Linked DNA regions of Homo sapiens: region 1 is linked to region 2. The links are contacts of gene promoters, found by promoter capture Hi-C in human tissues and cell types (Jung and others, 2019). All regions are on one chromosome and are shown on one strand. Each heading gives the region's core, a stretch centred on a gene start or on the middle of the fragment in contact. The rest is flanking DNA. Distances are from core to core; before and after follow the strand shown.

Region 1 (5,362 bases), core at 1,240-3,739, 37 kb after region 2:
ATTGGACAATCAATGTAAATAGAGCAGGACAAGAAAGAGGAAGGTCCTACAGTTTAGGAGGACTCCCTATTTTAACTCACCAAGACTTGGTTTTAACAAAAATCAAGTAAATTTGCACATTCTATCATGTCTTCTCTTGAAGAGGGTTTTTAATAGGGCCACTAAAATTCATAGTAGTACTTCTGCAACATAGTACTTTCTGAAATATTCCAATTGTTTTTCTATGTCTATTGTTAATTTTCTCCTTTCAGAGTTTCAGCAGTTCTTGTCACTAAGTGTGAGATCTGTAGAGTGATTGACTGGGTCTAGCACTTCCCCAGTGTGACTTTTCAGAAAAGTGGCAGCCATTTTTGGTTGTGACAGTCCTTCAACGATTATGTGACATGGCCTTGCCTAATATTTCAGATTCTCATAAACAGACTGCACTGGCTATATTCTGTAATCTTAAGCATCAGTCCCAAAAAAGGACTCTGTTGCCTCAGTTTATATTCCTTTGCACACCACCCTAATAAAGCGAGGTTGGTTTTTGTTCTCAAGCAGTGTTTTAATTATATAGTTTGCATTTATAAGAGTAATTGTGACTTAAGTAGATATGAATGATAATCGTTGGTTTCTTTTCCACATTAATCTATCATCTCTCAACTTCATTGATTGGAACATACTAACTTATGAAAAACTCCTCATGATCATGACTTGATCCTCAAACAAACTGCCTTGAAAAGATGACCATGCAGCCTAATGTGAATAGAATGATTTATCAGAACAGTCTATAATCTTGCTAAGCAAGCAGCCAAGTTGGAAAATCTTTTCTGCTTCCTATCTTGTGAAACGAAGGGCCGAAAATCTGTGTGGCCCTGAATGATTTGGGAATCGCAGTAAAATGACCCCAGTGGATGAATGGGGTCATTTTACTGAATGAATAAAATGATGAGTAATACAAAATTGTCCTGTTAAGCTGCTCGTTACCTAGATTCCCTGCTAAGCTGCAGGAAGTCAGCAAGAGTCCTCAGCCACCAGTGCTGAAAAATATTGATGGCCTAAATCATTTTGTGGAGTAAATCTATACATAATTATAGGAGATTGTTTAGAAATTATAGTAATTTGATATTATGTTGATTTTCATGAACATTTAAAAATTAATATAAATATCTTGTGCTGTATGTTTGTTTTCCCGGAATGTACTTGTTAAAAATTAAGCGCTGACTCACAGAAACATCTGGGCAAGAGTGTGGATGACTCAGGACAAACTCATCACTGTTATTGAAACACAGAGAGTATGGCTTCCTGAAAATGAGTTGTGAACATTATATTCTCATAAAATGGGCAGTGGTCTCAACTATTTCTCCACCCTACTCATGCATCTCAGTCCTCCCCACATGATTTGGATAGATGTGCAGCCTTCACCGGTGGAATATTGGCAATAGAATGAAAGCATGCTGCTTTTATCTTAAGCTTTTTGCTTGCATTGTTTAATGACTTTTCACAGTAGTAACCACAGAAACATAATTTCTTTTTACAAATGATACTGATAAAGTCATGAAATAGGAGAATCGTGAATAACATGGAAGGAATACTAATTTTTTTGGTTATTGCTCACCATGGAAATTCAAGAAAAAACAGAGAGGCAGTTCGCCATTTTCATGTAAACTAATCCTAATGATTAACCTTGCTAGTCTCAAGAAAAATTACTGAAAAACTTTATCACTGCTATATCTAAGCCATAGTTTTCATGATAGTGGTTAATGTATAAATAAGATTGCACACACTCTTTTTAGATTGAGTAAAGTACAGAATTGCATAAACATGTCTTTTAAAAATTCTTGTCTTAAATATGTTTCTAATTGTGCGATACTCCTGTGCTTACAGTATTTAGACCACATGTTTAAATCAGAGTTTTTAGTAAGGGATTACAGCACTTCTATTCCAAAGAGTGCTGGCTTTCTTCTTTCCTTTCTTTATAAAGCTTGCCACTGTTTGACACAGGCTGAATCTTTGATGTACATATAAGGTTTGATTTTTACTTTAATGTTTTAGTTTATGATCTATTTTGTACATTGAGGATGACATTCTGGGGTTGAAAAAATGGTGAAGTTATTTCTAGAAAGAAAAAAAGATCCTTCACCCTGGAGCAGCCATTTGGAAATTATTTAATCACACTAAGAGTAACCTTAAAAACATTAGGTTATTTTCAAATGATATTCCCAGAGGTGAGCAGCCAAATTCTCACTAAGAATAAGTTCATCTAGCATTGACGTTGCTTCAGTATCAAAAGCACAAAGTACTACTGAGCCATGACAGTTTCGTTTAACCAATGATTTTAGAGAAATCTGGGTGGTTTTCCATGTGTTGCCTGGTGCTGGGCAGGTTGGCTGTTGCATGTTTGTAAGGTTCAGCTGTGTCCAGAGAGAAATATAAAATAAATTAATTTAATTTAATACTGTCTCTGAATTCTAATAACATAGTGTACTATTTGTTCCTTAAAAATGTGAAAAAAAGTTCCATAAAGTTAGATCCTTAGACAAGTTTGCTATAAAGAGTATAAAAAAACAAATTAACTTGGTCAGAATTTTATAAACAGTGATTTATTTAAAAATTAAACACAAAGAAAATTGCAGCTGAATTTTGCACATGGTCAGGATTTATTAGCAAATAAAACATTATGCCTATATAATAATTGTGAGAATCCTCCTGCATTTGCTGAGGACTTACTATGTACCCACTGTCGCAGTACTTTTGCTGGTATACTTTCCCTTCCATTTTGTATTGGGAGCTTGGTCTTGTTAGTGGGTCTGTATTCTTCTACTCTTTACTTTTTTTTCCCCTAGTTGGTTTACCTAAATGCTTTCTAGGACCTAAGGATGTTGAGGGAGCAGCATCTCTGTGGCCCGGGGCACACAGATTACAGGGTTAACACTTGGTATCTAGTTTATGTCTTGGATTTCAGAGTGAACTTTTCAAGTTTTTATGGACTGTGACCAGCGAAACCGAAATACTAAGATCATTGGCATATTTAATAACAATAATTTTAAGAGAAAAGCTATGGATGGATTCTAGGGTCATAAATTTAGTAGCAATTATTTTTATTTATCCTAATATATAAAGTTTGTGGTTCACTTATTCATTAAACATTGACTTATTATATCTATGTGCCAGATACTGTGTTGGAACCTGCGGACACAAAAATGAGTCCTAATAGACGTCATTTCTGTCATCACAGAGCTCAATGTTGGGGGTCGGGAGAAGACAAGAAACACAGAGAGAAAGACATAACCAAATAACGACACACACACTAATACAAAATTGCATCTCTGATAAATACGTGAAGGAGTGATTCACATGCTTTCAGAGTTCTAATTGTAGGATGTAGCAGACAGAGGAAAGGATGCTCTTAGGAAATGATTTCTGAGCTAAGATCCAAGGAATTATTCAGAGTTAAGTGTGAAAAACGTGGGATGAATCCAGGGAGAAGAACATGTGCAAAGGTCCTGTGGCATGAGAGACAGTGGCAAGAAGAAGGATTGAAAGAAGGCTGGAGTAAATAGCAAAGGAAGAGAGGTTGGAAAAACATGATGCTGGGTTGTTAGGTGGAATCCAAATTGAGATCTTCATAGTTTACATAAAAACATTTCGTTTTGTCTTAAAAATAATAGGTCTTAAAATGGGAGGGTTTTAATTAGAGGTGGGAGGGTGACACAATTAGGTGTAATTTTTTCATAATCACGTTTGAGAGAGACCAGAGTGGATGCTGGTAGACCTGGAGCAATTTAACATAGTTGTCTAGTTGAAAGATGATAGTAGGTTTTACATCTGGTTCTTTAAAAAGTCTACATTTCTTTAAGCACAAATATGAAATGAAATAGTTTTATTTTATCCCCTTACTTCTTTCAGATCTCATTTTCCCATCCCTTAGTGACATCTGAACAGATCCATACCGAGTGCACATGTTTAATCATTTAGTCCAGTTCACGTGGGGCCCATTTAAAACTTCAGTCTCATGTTCACATTCGAATGCTCCTCTCTTCCAACTTTGGCTAAAGAACTTCCAAAAATGACAAAGTGCTATCTGTGCTTCCCTACCTTCTCCCCATTCCACTAGCCATTTCTCCTTTCGTATGTTGAGAACTTGGAGAAGAGATGAAGGGAGAAGGGGTCAGATGCTTTTTCTCTTAGTGGTGATGACGATGCCATCCTCTCTTGACCATCATTGTTTTTCTGGTGAATTCTAATGTGCTTCAAGTGTCCCCTTTGGGACAGCTCCCCAAATGCCGCCATCTTCCATGGAGCATGTGTGGGTTCTTTCCGTAGCACATAGTGGGGCTCCTTGCTGCCTCGTTGCTCCACTGCCCTTGCTCCCATCTCTCATGTCCTGCTTGTGCCTTCTTACTGCTGGCTCTTCCTTGCCCAGCAGCCACCATCCTGCATAAGGTGCTGGCAAGATGAGTCACACCCCAGGAACTTCCACAGTGTCTACCAGACCCATGGGACACTTACTCATCCTTGCCCAAGCAAAGGTAGGAAATCAGGCTGTTTCTGGGCTGCCTCTCTAAATTGACATCTCTTTTTCAGTTCTTTGTTTTCTTCACTTAAATAGACACAAGTGTATTGTGACTACTTAAGTATATGTAAACTGTATAAACAAATCTACCAGAAAAAGAGAAGCCAATGAAAATCCATCTTCCAATCTCTATAAGAGATTTTCTTGGAGCCCACTTCACCTGAGTTTATGGGAGTAGGGATGGTGTCAGTGGGGGTGATGGTGCATCACAAAACTACAGACCGATGCTGTAACCATAACTTCTACTATTCTCCTTGAGTCCCTTCCTTCCTCATAGTCATCTTATTATGTAGACTGGAGGGAGTTGATGGGATGATAGCTGTAGGTTTTAGCTGGTTTGGATGTTTAATAAATCCCAAGGATGTATCTGGTCCCCAAATGCTTTCTGGGGTGTTTAGCATGTGAAGTAATTTTTACTTTATATTCCCAACTCTGGCTTTTGCTTTGATCTAGTGTGGCAAAAAGCAACTTATTCAGAATTCTGTATGGTTTGGACCTGTAATGATGTCAAAGGACATGGAAACACTGGGCTAGGCCAGAAGAATACCTGATAAAACACATGTTACGGCTGGGTGTGGTGGCTCACGCCTGTAATCCTAGCACTTTCGGAGGCCAAGGCTGGTGGATCACCTGAGGTCAGGAGTTCGAGACCAGCCTGACCAATATGGTAAAATCCCGTCTCTACTAAAAATACAACAATTAGCTGGGCGTGGTGGCACAACACCTGTAGTCTCAGCTACTTGGGAGGCTGAGACAGGAGAATTGCTTGATCCTGGAAGACAGAGGTGGAGGTTGCAGTGAGCCAAG
Region 2 (5,291 bases), core at 2,717-5,216:
AAACAATGGTACGTTTATATAAAGCAAATAAACTTGTGGTAAACCATGCTGTGTTTTCAATAGCAGTTCTTTAGGTATTGAGATAATTATAAGCACTCAGTACATGCCAAGCACTATGTTCAGTACTTTATATACATTGCATTGTATTTATGCTTGCATCCTGCCTTCATCCCTCTTGTATGTCTGAGGAAACTGAGGCTCAGGACAGATTAGTAACTTGCCTACAGCAATAAAGTTTTTAAAGGGAGGAGCCACAATACAAGCTAAAGCCAGCTTGACCCAAAATTCATGCTCTTCACATCCATATCTGCCTATAGGTAATTTTGTATCGTAGGGGATCTAAGATAAGCAAATATAGAGCTTTTATAATTGGGAAACAAATCAGTAATATAAATGTTGTATTAAACACATATATATTCCCAAAACGACAATTCTGAAAATTGCTTCCTCCAAAGATGTAGGACCATAAACACGAGTTTTAGGAGCCCAACTAGTGTACTTGGTAAACAGTGTAAGTGCTGATTTTAAAAATGCAATTCTTACCTTGGAAGACTTTTGCGAGCCATGTCGACCCTGCAAAATTTATTAATTTAGGAAAAATTATTTTACACCTGCCTTTGCCACATACTGTGCCAGGTGCTGGCACAATAGCAGGAATGATCGTCTAAATGAATTTCTTTGGAAGTTAGGAAAGTGTCTTTTTTTCAGAGATAAGTGTGGGTAGGGAGAGAAGGAAGGTGGGAGTATCCATCAATCTCACACTGAAAGTCTTGGCTACCTATTGGCTACCTATAGCAAAGGATTATTTTAAGGTTTTCCATAAAAATATATTTGTCTGAGGACCCTTGACACTCCCTTGGAAATGTCATATAATTTTACGCCTCCACAATGCATTCACACTTACACTCTAACTATACCAATCAGGTGAAATAAAATGCTTTTAACATCACATAGCATTATTCTCAACCTCTGGGTATATAGCGGTCCTTCGATTTGCCCTCTTTGGTAGTGCAGTATTCTCAGTGTTAAGTAAGCAGAGTTGGAGAGTATCAGAAACAGGATTCTCAGCAGAAATGTGGTTGAATGGACTCCCAGCCCTCTTGGCATCGTACCTCATCATCCATGCCTACCTTCCTTTTCCAGGAAAGCCCATGTATTTTAGCAAACGGACTTCTGACACAAAGGCCATTATCTCTACGGCTTTAGATTAAAAGGTAAAATCTTTCTTAGACTTTACTCTGCAAGTCAACCAGAATTTTGATCAATTCAGATTTAAAATTTTCACTTTTACTTGGCTGTTACAGTAAGATCAAACGGGTAAGAATATATATTTCTCCTTTTCTTCAAAGACCGTGGCCCTCGTGGTAGGAAATGTTAAGGAAGGTTTATTATTATTATTATTTATTATTATGCAAAAGTATAAAATGGTCACAGGAATAAGGAACTTAGACCTTAAACATGATGAATTCAAATAAATAAGTACCTCAGAGGAAGAGCCCTACAACCAAAGAGATACCTATTTGAGAAGGAAATGCTGTTTGCCTTAGAATGAACAGGATAGTAAATTAACTCTCCTTGTTAATTCCCTTCCGTGGGGACTAAACGCCAAGGAGTAGTTGCGGAACTATAGCAAAAAGGGTCGAAATCAATCAGCATAACAGACACCTTATGTTATTTGTTCTGTAAATTCGACGGTTTTCTTAATCGTTCAGACTAATTTCAGGAGGAAGGATGAGTGCCCCTGGCTCTGAGATCACGTGTCATTGCCATGGAGATTTATCTTATTTAATAAGTAATACCACTCAATCTTTTTGTAATAACGAACACTTCTTTTCTTGTTACCTCAAACTAAATAAACTACTCTCCTATGGTGGCTCTAAGTGCGGGTTTCAAAAGACTATAAAAACTAGTGAATAAATCCAGTCTCCCATGAGTGTGCTAATTACTGTTTTAGTTCATGTTAACAGAAGAAATGGCTTAACAACAGTAACAACTGGAGGAGGTCAAACTTCTCATTCATTTGTATTAAATCACCCTTCCATTAGATAGGAGTGCTATAATGCATATTTCTTGGATAATACTCTCACTACAGAAGACTTCGGAAACAAGTACAATGTACTTTAAATGTTTCACGGTTTGCAAATTATTTCGTACACGCAGCGTCTGGCAGTTGTGAATCGAGGAGGAAAGCATTATTTTCCACTACACTAATAAAAATCAATTCTCACGTCTTCAATTAAATGATTTTCAGAAGGGTTCATCACCCGGAAAACCAGTATGTATGAACGCCGGAAATGCAGATGGCACCCAGCCTCAGAACTGCTTATTCTAGATGGGAACCAAACTAAGATTTCTCTTTATTATTTGTGAAAGCCATCCCACGCTGGAGAGAATCTCGCCGTAAAACAATTTAAGAAAAGAAAGAAATAACTCTGAAGAGTGTGAAGTTCTCCAGACAAATCTTATAGTGAATCTTTTGAAAGAAGCATTTATGGAAAGGTCAGGGGAGGTCAGGAGAGTTATGCCAGGAGCCAGGGTCAATCGTCCCCGGGCGACAGGGGTTCTCCCACGTGAACCGACGTCCCGGGCTCCGGGCGAGGCGCAGGGCTCAGGGCGCAGGGCGGGTCCCGTACGCAGGGCGGGCGCGCGGGCATCTTTGTGGCCAGGCGACCCCGGCTCGCTCTCCCGGAGCCCAGGGACTCCCGAGGCTGGCGCGGGCTGCCCGCGACAAGGTGCCAGCAGCCTCGGGCTCGCGAGGAGCAGCTCCCACCCGCGGCTTCCGAGTCCAGCTCTGTCCCTCCGCCATCCCCTAGTCCTCCGGCATTTATTCAGGGAGACAGGGAGGCAGAGAGAAGAGGAGAAAGCGGCCGTGTCTGCACCCAGCCTCTGCCGCAGCACTCGATGAGGGACAGCAGGGAGGCTGGCGGGGAGGCAGAGATTAAACTATGATTCCATCGATCACGGAAAGACCACCATCACCTACAGCAAAGGAGGCTCCGATGCGCCCACCCGGGCAGCGACTCGCGGTTGGTGGGCGTTCCTCGTCCTCGCCCCCTCGGTGGCTGTGGAATCCACCCCGCGCCGCACACGCCAGGACTCCCTTTCCTTTGACTAAGGGGAGGGGAAGGAACAAAAGAGACCCCCCACCCCCTATACATACATACACATACACACACACACACACACACACACACCCCTCCGGTATTTTACTGCTGGTCAAAGGATTCATTTTCGCAACCTCTTCTTCGAACACCTTCCCCACCTGAGCAGTGCATTTTCCCAAAGGTAAAGAGAGATAAGGGAGGAAACACAGCACCCAAGGTGATCAGTCGATTGGACACTGTTGATGGCACATTCTCCTCGTTCCCAACCAACCGCACAAAACCCGCAACACCTCGCGTCCCCGCGGGGTCTCCCGCGCCCCTGGCCCGGCCCTCCCGGCCGCCCCCAGCAGGCGCCCCGCTCTCCGCGGGAACTCTGGGACCTGGCCGAGCGTTCCCCGGCGGGCAGGACACTCGCCCGGTTCCCTGCAGCAGCTGAGGGCGGCGAGCGGACCGCGTCCAGGCAGCGACGCGGGATTCAACTTCCCGGACCCGCGGCGCGGCCCCCGCTCCCGCTCAGGGCGCCGCGGCCACAGCTGAGACCCCAGCGCCGCGCAGCCGCCCCCGCCGGGGCATGGGCGGTCGCGCTCTCCGCCCCCTCCTTCCTTCACCTCCCCCCTACCTTGAAAAAAATCCATCCATTGGTGCAAAGCAGACATTTTGATGTCATTTACTTAGCACCGCTTGTTTTGGAGGCAGCGTCTTACCCGGTCGCCTGGAGGTGTGGGCAGCGCGCCGATGGGTCCGGGGGAGCGGGGCTGGGCGGCTCGGTCCTCTAGCGGAGCCGGTTTGCTGCCATCCGCCCAACTTCAGCACCCAGCGGGCGAGGAGAGAGGGAGAGCGGCGAGGATGCAGAGGAGGGGGAGGGGGAGGAGGGAGCGGTGGGCGGGGAGGGAGCGAGAGCCGCTCGGCAGCGCGCATGCGCCTCGCGGGCCGGCGCAGCCCCTCGCCCGGCGCGGCCGGAGGGGCAGCTTCCCAGCCCCTGCGCGCGGCCGCGAGAGTCCCGGCCCCGCCCCCTCCCCGGGCGGCCCCCGGCCCCGCCCGACCTCGCGCGCTCGCCTGGGCGCGGCGCCCACCGTGCGGAGGGGCTCGGCCGGGACTCTCGGCTTCGGTGACGCCCGTCCGGAGCTTCGCGGGAGGCCCGGAGTCCCGAGAGCTTCCCTGGGTGACAGCGGCTCTCCGCCCGGGCCCCTGCAACTCCACTCGCCCGTAGCCCGCGCGCTGCTGTCCTGGGCTGCGCGGGAGCCTTGCACCCAGGAGCCGGCCTGCCAGGCACAGCAGCCTGCCTGCTCCGGGTCCCGGAGGAAGCATTCCCTGCGTGGGGGTTCAAGGAAGTGTGAAGTTAAGCAAGTTTTGCTTCCCGAAGGACTTTATGAAGCGTCCTTTACTTTATTGACTTCCTCGCCCAGAAAGAGGACCTTTTCTCCTAAGAATCAGTGCAGGTGCTCTCTGGCCTAGCCCATGCCAGCTGCCTCAGGCGCCCGGACCACTCGCTGGAGCAGAGTTTTGAGTGAGAAAAGCCGATGACAAGGCAAGAGTGGAGAATTATTAACGGAGGTGCTGATGCTTGGGGCCTAGAGCATCCTTAGGGGACAGCTTGGTAGTTACCAGGTCTGATAATCGTTCTGTGCCCAAGTGGAGCCCAGCTTGGTAGGGAAGGAGCTTGGGATACTTAATGCAACCCGAGCGCTAGATTGCATCTCCAATGATTAGACTAAAGTGTTTGTGCGGAGGAAGTGGAGAAGCAGTGTCTTGCTCTTCAGATACCACATCTGTGGGAAGAGGAGGGAGTTCCTGCAGGAGTGAATGGGCTTTTTTTTCTTACACCTAATTAAAACAGATTACTTGTAAATCTGTGTGAGTTCCCCTTCCTTGTGTGTTCATGTAAGCAAGCGTTGTGTTATTTCAGCCTACTGAACTCTCCTGTGCCTCCATCCTCATAGACTCACGGGTACTTGGGTTAAATATGTCTCAGGGCCTCCTCCAGGGCCTCCCATGGCTTTGAGTACTAGTGCTCTTCAAAGTGTCTTCATTTTTGTTGGATTTCACAGAAGTATTTGTCTTTGTCTTCCAGGCTGCTATAACAAAATACCATAGACTGGATGGCTTATAAACAACAGAAACTGATTTCTTACAGTTCTGGAGACTGGGAAGTCCAAGATCAAGATGTAGGCAGATACCTTATTTGGT

Evidence for each region. The method cuts DNA at HindIII sites, captures the fragments that hold promoters and counts their contacts. A contact is called where the count stands out against the background at its distance.
Region 1: a contact is called between a fragment that was not itself captured here and the fragment with the promoter of RGS17 in region 2, in 1 of the 25 tissues and cell types used here (bladder).

What each region holds. Positions count from the first base shown.
Region 1 is chr6:153,166,258-153,171,619 of GRCh38, forward strand. No RefSeq gene overlaps it. Among named protein-coding and RNA genes, the nearest start is that of RGS17, 38 kb to the left of the region's middle. The HindIII fragment of the contact is 3,647 bases long and covers 667-4,313 here.
Region 2 is chr6:153,127,316-153,132,606 of GRCh38, forward strand. It overlaps RGS17 (regulator of G protein signaling 17), which reads right to left and starts at 3,967. Exons shown (of 5, transcript NM_012419.5): 1 at 3,809-3,967. RefSeq lists a silencer at 3,849-3,898. The HindIII fragment of the contact is 10,722 bases long and covers 1-5,291 here.